Regions from separate parts of the Homo sapiens genome. Here region 2 is linked to region 1. The links are contacts of gene promoters, found by promoter capture Hi-C in human tissues and cell types (Jung and others, 2019). All regions are on one chromosome and are shown on one strand. Each heading gives the region's core, a stretch centred on a gene start or on the middle of the fragment in contact. The rest is flanking DNA. Distances are from core to core; before and after follow the strand shown.

Evidence for each region. Contacts are between HindIII fragments. The study calls those that stand out against the background at their distance.
Region 2: a contact is called between a fragment that was not itself captured here and the fragment with the promoter of CPT1A in region 1, in 1 of the 25 tissues and cell types used here (H1 embryonic stem cells).

What each region holds. Positions count from the first base shown.
Region 1 is chr11:68,838,687-68,844,409 of GRCh38, reverse strand. CPT1A (carnitine palmitoyltransferase 1A) reads left to right here and starts at 2,494. Exons shown (of 19, transcript NM_001876.4): 1 at 2,494-2,635. RefSeq lists enhancers at 463-672, 713-852, 1,575-2,100, 4,309-4,468 and silencers at 2,246-2,605, 2,626-2,675, 2,886-2,965, 3,226-3,325, 3,376-3,655 and 1 more. The HindIII fragment of the contact is 31,646 bases long and covers 1-5,723 here.
Region 2 is chr11:68,567,077-68,572,799 of GRCh38, reverse strand. PPP6R3 (protein phosphatase 6 regulatory subunit 3) reads right to left here. Exons shown (of 24, transcript NM_001164161.2): 10 at 5,634-5,723; 11 at 2,903-3,052; 12 at 1,696-1,760. Among named protein-coding and RNA genes, the nearest start is that of PPP6R3, 110 kb to the right of the region's middle. The HindIII fragment of the contact is 3,874 bases long and covers 476-4,349 here.

The DNA of each region.
Region 1 (5,723 bases), core at 1,245-3,744:
AGAAAGATTACTCTAGTTTCAGAGGCAGACATGGAGACGTTTTTGGCCCCAGGGAACTGAGGCTCAGGCCCGGAGCTCCCCGGGAGGCCTCGTTCTCTGCTTCTTTATTAATAGACTCAGCTACGCAGCCGCGGGAGCCGCAGACCCGGGCAGGAGAGCTGCAGCGTGGTCGGCGGGAGGGGAATAAGGCCTCCCCAGTGCGGCTGCAGTTGCAGGCCGGCGCGGGCTCGTTGCAGCTGCCGAGAGCCCGGCCACCATGGCACAGGTGAGCGTGGCGCCTCGGCGTCCCCACAGACTGGGTCCCTGTCCCTGCCCCGCCCGGCCTGCAGGTGGCACCTAGGCGGCGCGCAGGGAAGGGCGCACGGTCAAGGCCGAAGAGCCCTGGGAACAGACAGGGCGCGGGGCCAATCCCAGCTGGGCGCGCACCGGGGCGCTGAGCGAGGGAGGAAATGACCTTGGAGCGGGGACCTGTCGGTGGCTGAGGTTCCAGGGAAAGGAGGGAAGGGCATTTGCGGTGAGAATGACAGTCCAGCTTCCGTAGTGCAAACCGCGAAGGCCCACGTGCAAGGAGAGCCTCACGCGCGAGAGCCGCCCGGGCTCGTGGGGTGCAGCCGCGCGTCAGGAACGTGTGCCCTGGCCCAGCCCACTGGCCTCTTGGGGCGGTGAAATCTGCGGGGGTCGAGTGCCTGGGCTCACTGGTGGTCCAGACAAGCGCAAGCAGGGGGACAAACCCCCAACTTCTAACCTCAAAGAAATGCAAATTAAAAGGAGAGATGAGAGATTCTTCCCTCCCCCACCCCTCCTTTTAGGATTGGCAAAGATTAAAATAATCCATAATCGGAGACAGGGCCCCGCTTGCACGCGCGGGTGGCAGTGGAAGTTGGTAAACTTTTCGGCATGGTAGCTTGGCCTGTGTCACCAAAATGTCGCACGTGCCTGGTTGCTTCCCCTCCAGGGATCTATCCTACAGGATAATCAGGAGCTCCAGGAGGTACATCGACGGCCAACGCAGCTTTTATTTATACCTGCAATGGTGGGGTGGGGGGCGGGGAGGAGGCCCTAATTGTCCAATGGGGGCCGCGTAAATGGATCACAGCATAGTCAAAGGAAATCTTATGCAGCCTTGGGAAGGCCGGTGGTCATCTCCGTCCCCCAGCAGAGACCTGTCTACGACGTAAGCCAAGTGAAAACAAAACAGCCTTACAGACAGCTTGCATCCTAGCCTTCCTTTAAAACAGCGAGCCCGGGAACCGCAGGGAGAGTTAACTGCAGCGGTGGTGGGGGGCGGGATCAAAGGAGAACTTTCATTTTCTCTTCTAAATTCTTCTGCGGTAACAACTAAATGATACAGAAAGAAGGATGGTTGCAAACATGGATTTTTTCATAACTAGAAGAAGTGGTCGAACTTAAAAAGAGCAGGGTTCATAAAAGAGGTTTAAAAGAGTCTTTGTTCATAACATCGGTGCATTTATGGAGCACCTGCTGTATGCAGAGCCGCCAGCTCGCGCCTGGAAGCATTGCGGGCAAAGATAGGGGAGGGGTGGCTCCCGGTCAGGAAGACCCCCTTGGCCCTCCTGTTACGCTTGGGGCCCCTCTCCCTCCCCCTCAACCCCCTGGGTCCCCTGCAGCTGCGCTCGCCCTAGACTCCTGGGACCGGTGGATGTTCAGTTCCCGCTCCCGGCCCCTCTCCCGAGCTCCAGCACAAGGGTCTCTCGGTCGCTCTGCCCTGGCCTCCAGCTACTCCTCTCCCAGCACCTATTATGTTCTTGACGCTGGAAGAATTATTTTAGTAAATCTCACCAAAGCCCCCCAAGTGAGGCATTTTTATCCTAGCTAGATGAGGAGGAGCCACGCTGCCTCTGGATCGCGATGACTGCCACTCGTGGTATAAGGTCTGATTTGGGGCATGGGCTGTGGAATCAGATCTGGACCCAATGTCCGATCTATCACTTCCCCGCGCTTTTTTTTTTAGAGACGGGGTCTCGCTACGTTGCCCAGGCTGGCCTCGAACTCCTGGCTTCAAGCGACTTCCCGCCTCCCGAGTAGCTGGGATTACAGGCGCGCCCCACCACTCCCTGTGGATCGGTTGCTTCTCAGCTCGGTGATGTGGGGTAACTTATTTCCTGGCCCGCGACCCTTGTCTGCATGAAAGAGTCAGGGGTGAATACCATCAGGGGGTGCCTGGAGCATTACACGGGGCAATGCCGATAGATAAGTCGCGAGGATCAGCCAGGCACGGAGCTAAGCGATTTTATGCGCACGGCCTCCACGAGATGGCTCGTTTTACGGATGAGGAAACTGAGGCTCGGAGGGTGAGGAATCTCGTCCTAGACCCCATTCCGGCAGAGGTCGAGGACGCGAGCACCCGCTCGAGCCTCAGTTTCCCTCCCCTCCTAGCCCCGCGGACGCCCCGCCCCGCCGAGGCCCCGGGCCCGCCCTCCGCGCGCCGGGAGTCACCCGCCTGCAGGCGCCGCAGCCGGACCCGCCTCAGCCAATCCGCTGCTGCCGGCGTCGGGTGCGCTCGGCCTCGCCCGCGGCCCTCCTTCCCCGGCTCCCGCTCGCCGCTCGTTCACTCCACCGCCGCCGCCGCCGCCGCCGCTGCCGCTGCCGCTGCCGCACCTCCGTAGCTGACTCGGTGAGGCCCGGTCGCCCGCGGTGGGGAGGGTGGCGGGGCGGCCCTGCGGGCTGCGGGGGCCGGGGACGGGCGGGGCGCGGGGCTGCCGGGAACCGGACCGGGTGGGGGACGCCGCCGGAACCGGGGCGCCGAGAGGAACCCCGGTATTCCCCCCGGACGGCGGGGTTGTGGAGATCCTGAACCCAGAAAGAGGCCGGGGCTCCCCATGTTCCCCAGGGGATTGGGTCTGAGGGTCCACCGGGGGTCGGTCCATCCGCAGGCGGGTCCCGTGCGGCCGCGGGAGGGATGCTCGGCCCTCCGGACTTGGCTGGACGCCTCCGGCCCGGGGCCAGCGGGGCCACCGGCTCCCTTGTCTCCCACTCCTTAATCCGCCCTGGACTGGATTGAGTCTGAGGGTCTGCCCAGGGGTCGGTCAGCCTGCGGGTGGCCGCGGGAGGGATGCTGGACGCTCTGGATGCTTTCCAGGATGCCTTCGCCCGGGGCCAGTAGGGCCTCCGGCTCCTGTCCCTGCCCATCCCACCCTGGCTCTGGAGAGGATTGGGTCTGGGGGTCCGCCCGTGGGTTGGTCACCTACGGGCAGGTGCAGTGCGGCTGAGGGAGGGGTGCTCGGCCCTCGGGATTCGGCAGGGCGCCGCTGACCCCATCCCAGCGTCCGTCTCCCCGGTCCCCCTCCCCATGCCCGCCCTCGCGGTGCAGCCGTCGGGACACGCCCTTGGCGCAGGGACTCCAGGCGCGGTCCGAGCGCTGCCGTGAGCAGGATGAGGGTGCCGGGCCCAGTGCCTGCTTGGGAGCGCCCCGCAGCCTCTCCCGTGCAGCGCTGGGTCAAGGGCGGGTGGGCGCGGAGCATGTGCCCAAGGTCGTGCCGGGCTGGGAGCGGCGGGGCCGCGGGAGGGTGGGGGTGTCACGTGGCCGTGCCCTGGCGAACTTGGCCTGCGAGCCCGACGGTGCGGTCAGGGCCACGCGGGGCAGCCCCTTCTCGGAGCCACCGCCGCGGCCAGCCAACAGCCGGCTTCTTTCGGTTTGTCAGGAGAGGCCATGGGTCAGCGTCTTTATAATGTAAATCCGCCCTTGGCTTTCGTTAAAGCCGCAGAACTCAAAGATGAGGGCCGATCTTACTTTAAAAAAAGAAAACAACTCAGAGAGTTAAAAATCCCAACTACCTACCAGGTTAAATACATAACAAAGTTAATATTCCCAACTCGGCACAGGCTTTCGGTTCCTCTCGGCTCCGTGTGTTATAAAATATTTAAGGGCAGATTTTAGTAGGAAGCTGGTAACTTTGTAAGTTACCGAATAAAATGAAAATCGGTTTTACCTTTTGCAACGTTGTATTTTGTTACACCATTTTCTTCCACAGGTGTCCGGTTTCTGGTCATTCCAGATATGCAAGCATGTTTATTTCATTCTAAGCCACAAACCAAGTGAATAAAAAATGGCTGAGCACTGGTCTTCTATTTATGCCAGGAAGCACCCCCACCCCCGGGCCTTTCCAAATTCTTTAAGGCGACTCTGACCGAGTGAACGTAGCAATAAATTGAGGACATAAGTGTCGCTGAGAATGCACACCGCTGAGGCCAGCGAACATCCAGCTGTCAGTTGGTCTGGGGACTATCAGCATTCGCAGCTGGTTCTTTGGATTGGTTTTGCCTCAATACCAAGAGCCTGTGGACTGCTTTTCGCATGTAAATTACTGGTTTCCTTCCTGTGAAGCATTGCTAGCCTAGACCTTGCACTTGAACCCTATCTTAACAGTTGGAATCAAACAATAAAAAGGGCCAGGTTTGGGAGTGCACACACTTTGTTTCAAAGTGGCAGAAGTTGGCATCATGCACAGGCCAAAATAACGTTTCGAGTTGGTACTAAAAACAAGCCGCCTACCCTGGAGGGGAAGAGAATTAAACTGGGTCCCTTCCGATACTGCTGCGGCTGCTGCGTTTGGCCCCGGCCCCGGACCAGTGGTCACCGAGCGGTCAAGTTGGGCCTCCGGGGAGCCCTGGAACGAGGGCCTGCCCTTACCCAACCCTGGCCCCGAGTGCTCATTCATAAAAACACCGTCAGTTTTCACTGAGGCTTCACAGTGAGCCCCTTTTAGACGCGCCCTGGGCTCTTGAGCGCGGTGCCTGCGTTTCTGGCTCGTTGGATGCAGCATCTGTCATCAGAAGCACTGAGCACCGAGCTGTCCCCACAGCTGGGCACCGCAGGGCTCGACCTTCCCACGGAGAGGTGCGTTGCATTTCTCCCGCTGTCGCTGGGGTGGCCACAGGGACGCGCGCCAACTCGCTCCGGAAGGTCTCTGTGGGCACGGCGGGTGGAACAGGATCCGAGCGCCTGGGACGCGCCAGCCTGGGGGCGGGGCTGCTGCTGACCTTTCCCCTACTTTTCTCAGCCGTCACGTGACGCCGCCCGGGGCTTGGGGGAAGGGGCGGGGCGCGAAGCCGCAGTTGCTGGCGGTGCCCTTCCGAGGACGCTTTCCAAGCGAGCAATTAAACTTGCTGCCCGAAATCTAAAGGCGCAGGGGCGGTGGCAGCGGCGGCGGGAGGCGGAAACCGGAGCCTGCGCGGGCCAAGGGCTGCTTCTGCACTTTGATCGTTTGCATTTTTTCCTTTGTTGGAAAAAATGTTTAGTCACTCTGCATGGTTATTATTGGCAGGCCAGAATTCTGTTGCTGGTGGAAGCCTGAACTTGAATTCCGGAAGAATTGGTGCTTTAAGAATTAAAATGGCTGTTCGAGATTGTTTGTTTAAAGTGTGTTGGAGAGAATCTCTCGAGAATCTCTCCAACACACTTTAAAGAGGCCTCACTTGTCTTCTGCCAGTCTTGAGCTTTTCTTGTGAAGACTTTTGTTTTGTTTTGTTTTTACAAATAAGCGATATAAGCATACGATGCAAAGTTAAAGAGGCACAGATGGGCCCGGCCCCGTGGCTCACGCCTGTAATCTCAATGCTTTGGGAGGCCAAGGTGGGAGGATTGCTTTGAGGCCAGGAATTCGAGACCAACCTGGGCAACAGAGCCAGACCCCTGTCTCTACAAACAATTAGTAGGGCCTGGTGGAGTGCATCTGTGGTCCCAGCTACTCAGGAGGCTGAGG
Region 2 (5,723 bases), core at 1,163-3,662, 270 kb after region 1:
TGCAATCACAGCTCATTGCAGCTTCAAACTCCTGGGCTCAGGCAATTCTCTCACTTCGGCCTCTTGAGTAGCTGGGACTATAGGCAAGTACCACCACATCCGGCTAATTTTTTGTAGAGCCAGGATCTCCCTATGTTGTCCAGACTGGTCTCGAACCCCTGGCCTCAACCAATCCTCCCATCTCAGCCTCCCAAAGCAGTGGGATTACAGGCATCTCCCACCGTGCCTGGCCAGAGTCAATCTTCACTGAGTTGCTCAGAGTCTCTTTTAGTTCTTCAGTAAGATCCAGAGAGCCAGGTGTTACCTACAGGCAACTGAGTCACTCTTCTGCACACCCTCAAGTACACAAGTGAAAGAAAACAAAGGCCCATCTCTAAGGTGACCCACAGCTTCAAACTGCTTCAGGCTGTTGTGCAAGGAAACAAGGAAAGTTCTTTCGGGATCCCCCTAGACAGAGGGAATGGTATTCACCAGGCCTCCAGAAAACGGGACTCACCAGGAGAGCAGGGCACAAAGGATATCTGAGCCCTGGCCAGATGAGGAGGCAGCAAGAAGACTGGAGGTTGGGAAGGACACAGAGAAGCCAAGACGGAGTCAGACATATAACCAGAGATGTCAACTGGGCCACAAACAGCATCTCCAAAGAGCTCCATTTGGAAGAATGTATCTGAGGTCTACCAATACTAGCCCCTTGCCACAAACAAACAAACAAAATGCCAATTTCCCACATGAAGCCAAATCAAAACCCTAGTAGCAGTGCTTATTAAACGATTTAAAAAAAAAAAATCAAACCTCACAAAGTAAGGCTGACTCCCAAGAGTCATCTAGCTTTCCTGGAGACACAGAGACACATAACAAGAATGCTGGGAAATGATCAACTACAAAGGACCATGAGAGAAATTTTGGGGGTGACAGAAATGTCTTGATTGTGGTGATGGTGACTTCAGGCATCAGTCAGAATTCCTAGGAATGTACACCTAAAATGAGCTTTACCATATGAGAATTATATCTCAATAAACCTGTCTTAAAAACAAACACAGAAGCATGCCTTCAGAGTGTTTCCCAAACACGCCCTTATGCCACCATGCTTCAGAATCTACGGGGTGACATAAAGGCTTCCAGGGCACTAGAGAGGAATGCTGTTACAGACAACACCTGTAAGAAAACGTTTTGTGTAACAAAGCTACTTACATGTATCAACTAATACTTCACATAACCTTGCCAATCAGCTAACAAACATTTTCTAAAAAGAAAACACTGAGCAATTTTTTTCCTCTAGGTCCCTGTACAAAGCAACTCTTCTCTACAATGAAAATATGTACGTGATACCTTCTGTTCTGAGCATAAGGTGACCAGGACAAATACACTAAGTCACATCATCAAGGACTTAACTTTAACCTTATAACTCTTAGAACAGTAGCCATTCAAAAAGGACCAGGAAGTTTCAAAGGCAGCACAGAGGTGGGGAACACTCCGAACTCACTTGTTTTGCCCCAAAAACAAGAGGACCTAACAAGAAATTATTAGTATTATAAAAACAACTGTTACAATGAAATAATCTGGGGAAAAGTTTAAATTGTAAAATGGCCAGTATCATGTAATTATTTCCATTTTTTTCTGACTAGGGCAAGGAGGTATTATTTTCCTCATATTACCAACCAAACTGAATTCCTTTCAAAAAAACAATTTACTTACTGTTTCTTCTCATTCATTTCCCAGGCTTCAAGTATTCGTTCTATTAATTGACATTTTTGGAAAAGCTGAAAAAAAAAAAAAGAATATTCCAGTTAATACTTCAAAGCATCAAAACTTTAAAGTGAAACAGAACTCTAGGTTAAAGAGAATAGTAGTATGCATAATCTAGCAAGCTAAATGTTACTAAGCCAAATGCAATGTGATCATCAATCTACTGCAGACACCCACAACACTACAGAGATTCAAATCAGGATCCACACCCTCCACAGAACATCTACAGGAAACTCAGTATTATAGGTAGTGCAGTTAACTACCTATAGTTAACTATAAAGGAAAGCCAGGTTTTATTAGCTGTGAAAATTCAGAACAGAAATATAAAACCTGAGCTAAATTAAAATGGAATAAAGAAAACTATGCCTTGGCAAAAATTTAACTTAGAATCCAAAGTAATGCTTGTACTTTTAAAATGTGAGCACGTCTTACTTCCAGATGAACTAACATTACTGCATTAATATTAAAAACAGGTGGGTTTTGCCCAAAGTCTGCAAGTCAGTGACAACTGCTGTAGGCTGCAATACTGGAATGTGCAGGGCTAGTTCTTCTCAGGTGTCATTTGTCTTTCCCATCAACTTGGCTGTTCCAAGCTAGCCTTTTCTACATTTTAGGTTTGCGAGTAAACCAAGTGTGGGCTAGAAATTTTAAAAGTACCATAGAACTACCAAGCAAGAAAAAATCTGAAGACTGACTTAGTAAAATTATCTCATATTTGACAGAAGAGAAAAAGAGACCCCAGGAAGACTCTCAACATCACAAAGAACTCAGTTCTCCTGACTTTCAGTCACGTATTCAGCAAAGAAACTACACTCTGGTCAGCCAAATAATAGTGCAAATGTTTTCCATAGTATTTAAATTTCTATGATTCTTCAAATCATCAAAGAATTTATATATCTTCAAACCTATTAATTTTACCAAATAAGGAGGCCACTTAGCTTTTTTCTTACAAGACTGTTCATTTAATAGTTATTTGTCCAGTACTTGATTTATATAATGATTTATATGTTAAAAGTGAAACGAACACATGATTGTCAAATATTTAGACTCTGAAATCTAACCTCAAGCCCTTTAAACCTCAATTCACATCACAGTCAAGTGGAAAACTGCTATAACCAGGAGAGAGTGGGAGAAAAACGAGACCAAATAAGCTTACATGTTTTAATAACAAATTATCACCAGTGGAGTCTTGATCGGTAATTGTGGCATTTTCTGTGTTTTCAAAAGGACTTGCAAGAATCAGTGCAATACAAATTTCCACTTGTGTATGCAAAAAGTTATTCCATGTATACTTGAAGAACATGTTCTACAAAAAAGAAAAACCATGTTTTATTCGGTTACCTCAATGTTTAAGCCAATACTTAAATACATTTACAGAACAGTGATTTAATAAAGTAAAAATGATGTGCTCTCAGTCCAAAAGGACCAATTAAAAGGAACCTGAGTTCACATTAGTACTTGCATAACCACAGTTTCATTTTCTGTGGTTTCAGTTACCCACAGTCAACCATGATCTGAAAATAGGTGAGTATAATACAGTAAGACATGCTAATCCAAGAGATGACATTCACATAACATTCATTACAGTATAGATTTATAATTGTTCTACTTTATTATTAGTTATTATTAATCTCTTCCTGTGCTTAATTTATAAATTAAACTTTGTCACAGGTATGTATAGGAAAAACACATAGTATATATAGGGTTCGATAGCTGTGGTTTCAGGCATCCAAAGGAGTCTTGGAAGGTATCCCTCATAAATAACGAGGACTAAATGGGGATGTGAAGTATTGCTTTAGAGCCTAAATGGCGTGCTATCTGCTTATCTGACATGCCAGAACTGGTATGGAATCTAGTAAAAAACCAACAACAAACATACAAAGACAAGAGTACGTTTCTCCAAGAGAAAGGGAGTATCTTTTTTCTCTTCAAAGCAACTAACACAAATAGTTAGCGTGGTAAATTTTCTATAATTTTCAAAAAAATTTATAAGAGGCCAGGCGTGGTGGCTCATGCCTGTAATCTCTGCACTCTGGGAGGCCGAGGCGGGCGGATCACGAGGTCAGGAGATCAAGACCATCCTAACACGGTGAAACCCCGTCTCTACTAAAAATACAAAAAAATCGCTGGGTGTGGTGGCGGGCGCCTGTGGCCCCAGCTACTCAGGAGGCTGAGGCAGGAGAATGGCGTGAACCCAGGAGGCGGAGCTTGCAGTGAGCCAAGATCACTGCACTCCAGCCTGGGCGACTGAGCCAGACTCCATCTCAAAAAAAAAAAAAAATTGTAAGAATTTCATTTTGATGCAACAAATATTTACTGATGGTTTTTGTGCAGGGTATTGTATGAGATGCAACATGGCAGACAGAGATACACAAAAATACGGTCCACAGTCTTGAGGTGCTCATGACTCAACTCCAGCATACAAAAACTAGAGCTATCAGCAAAAACAAATGAGGATACGAGAGGCAGTAACGTGAATCTCCTGGAAGTACAAGGGTTTTCAAATTACTTGAAAAGGTAATAGCATTACAAAAGGGAAAGAATTTCTAAAAGTACAAAATGCCATATTTTGGAAGTCAATTTAGTATGTCATATTTAGGAAATGGTTGGGTCTGGTTATCTAATCTCAAAATGAAGAAGTAATGAGTAACTCCTCCAGTAGTCTCATCAAATTTAGTCTCATCAGAAGTAGTCCTAAAGATTAACAGAATAAATTAACAATAACTGTATATTGTTATTAGTAAAATTAAAGACCAGTGATCAATGACTTAGGAACGTTATATTCCCGGAGTTTTATACACTAGAAGGTAGGACAAAAACTACGTCCCCAGAAGGCAATGACCATGCTAGCTATCAAAGAAACTGTAATTCTTTAAATCTTCATCTCTTTTTCCAAATTGCTCCTGTTTTCTGTGCTCTATACTGATTTAACCCAAAGCTGAAACCTAACAAAAATATCTCGGTGACGCTAGGAAGCACAATGATGTGGTTGATAAAGCACGTATGGGTTTGAAATTGGGTGAATTCAAATCTTGGCTTCACCGCTCACTAGCCATGGAATGTATCCTCTCTCTGGGCATGATCTGAAAAACACATCCTCTCTCTCACTGTAATGTTCACCCGAGGGTCCTGGAGATCACCCAGGATCACATGAATAGTGTACATAAGATGAACATTACAATGCCTGTCATACAGTGAACAAACACCTCCTTTGAAACACCCCCACATCTCCCCCAAATATATGATGTGACCAGATGTCTTGTGAAACCTGCTAAAGTGTTAACCCTCGCGCTTTCTGTGCTGTGGGTGGCAGCACACAGAGAAGAAGCATGGGCTCCAGAGCTGGGCCTATGGATTCTAAGCACAGACTCTGAAACTGGGGAATTCAGGGGTCAGGGAGACCTAAATCATCCCTGGGCTTTTCCTTCTCCTTCCATCAGTAAGCAGGCTAATAACTGTGTCTCAAGGAAGAGTCAATCCAGACTCAAATCAATTAAGACCATATGGCGTCAGGTACGTTATACAGATACCTCCCAGTGGCAAGAAGATAAAGGTTTGTCCCCTCACTAAATATGAACAGAAAACAATGCTGCACCCAGCAGTCATTGTCCACGAGACGGAGCACGAGGGAAAAGCCGATGTCTCTTAATCATCTTCAAAATCCTATGTTACAATTCTTTATATAAAGCAACAGTAGATGCCTAGTGAACAATTATAAGCATTCGAAATTTATAATAAACTCAAGGCAAAAACTACATAAAACACCATTTATGCTCAGACCAAGAAAAGTCACTGACATAATGTAAATTTGTAAGGTTGTAACTTGGTTAAATATCCATGAAATATCAATGGCAAATTAAAATGTCTGTGAGCAGGGAAAATCTCACCAATATGACTCCAATGCTATTCAGCTCCATAAGGTCCCCATTTATACTGCTGGTATTGGTTTGAAGCAGGCTGGATATCAACCTAATGAC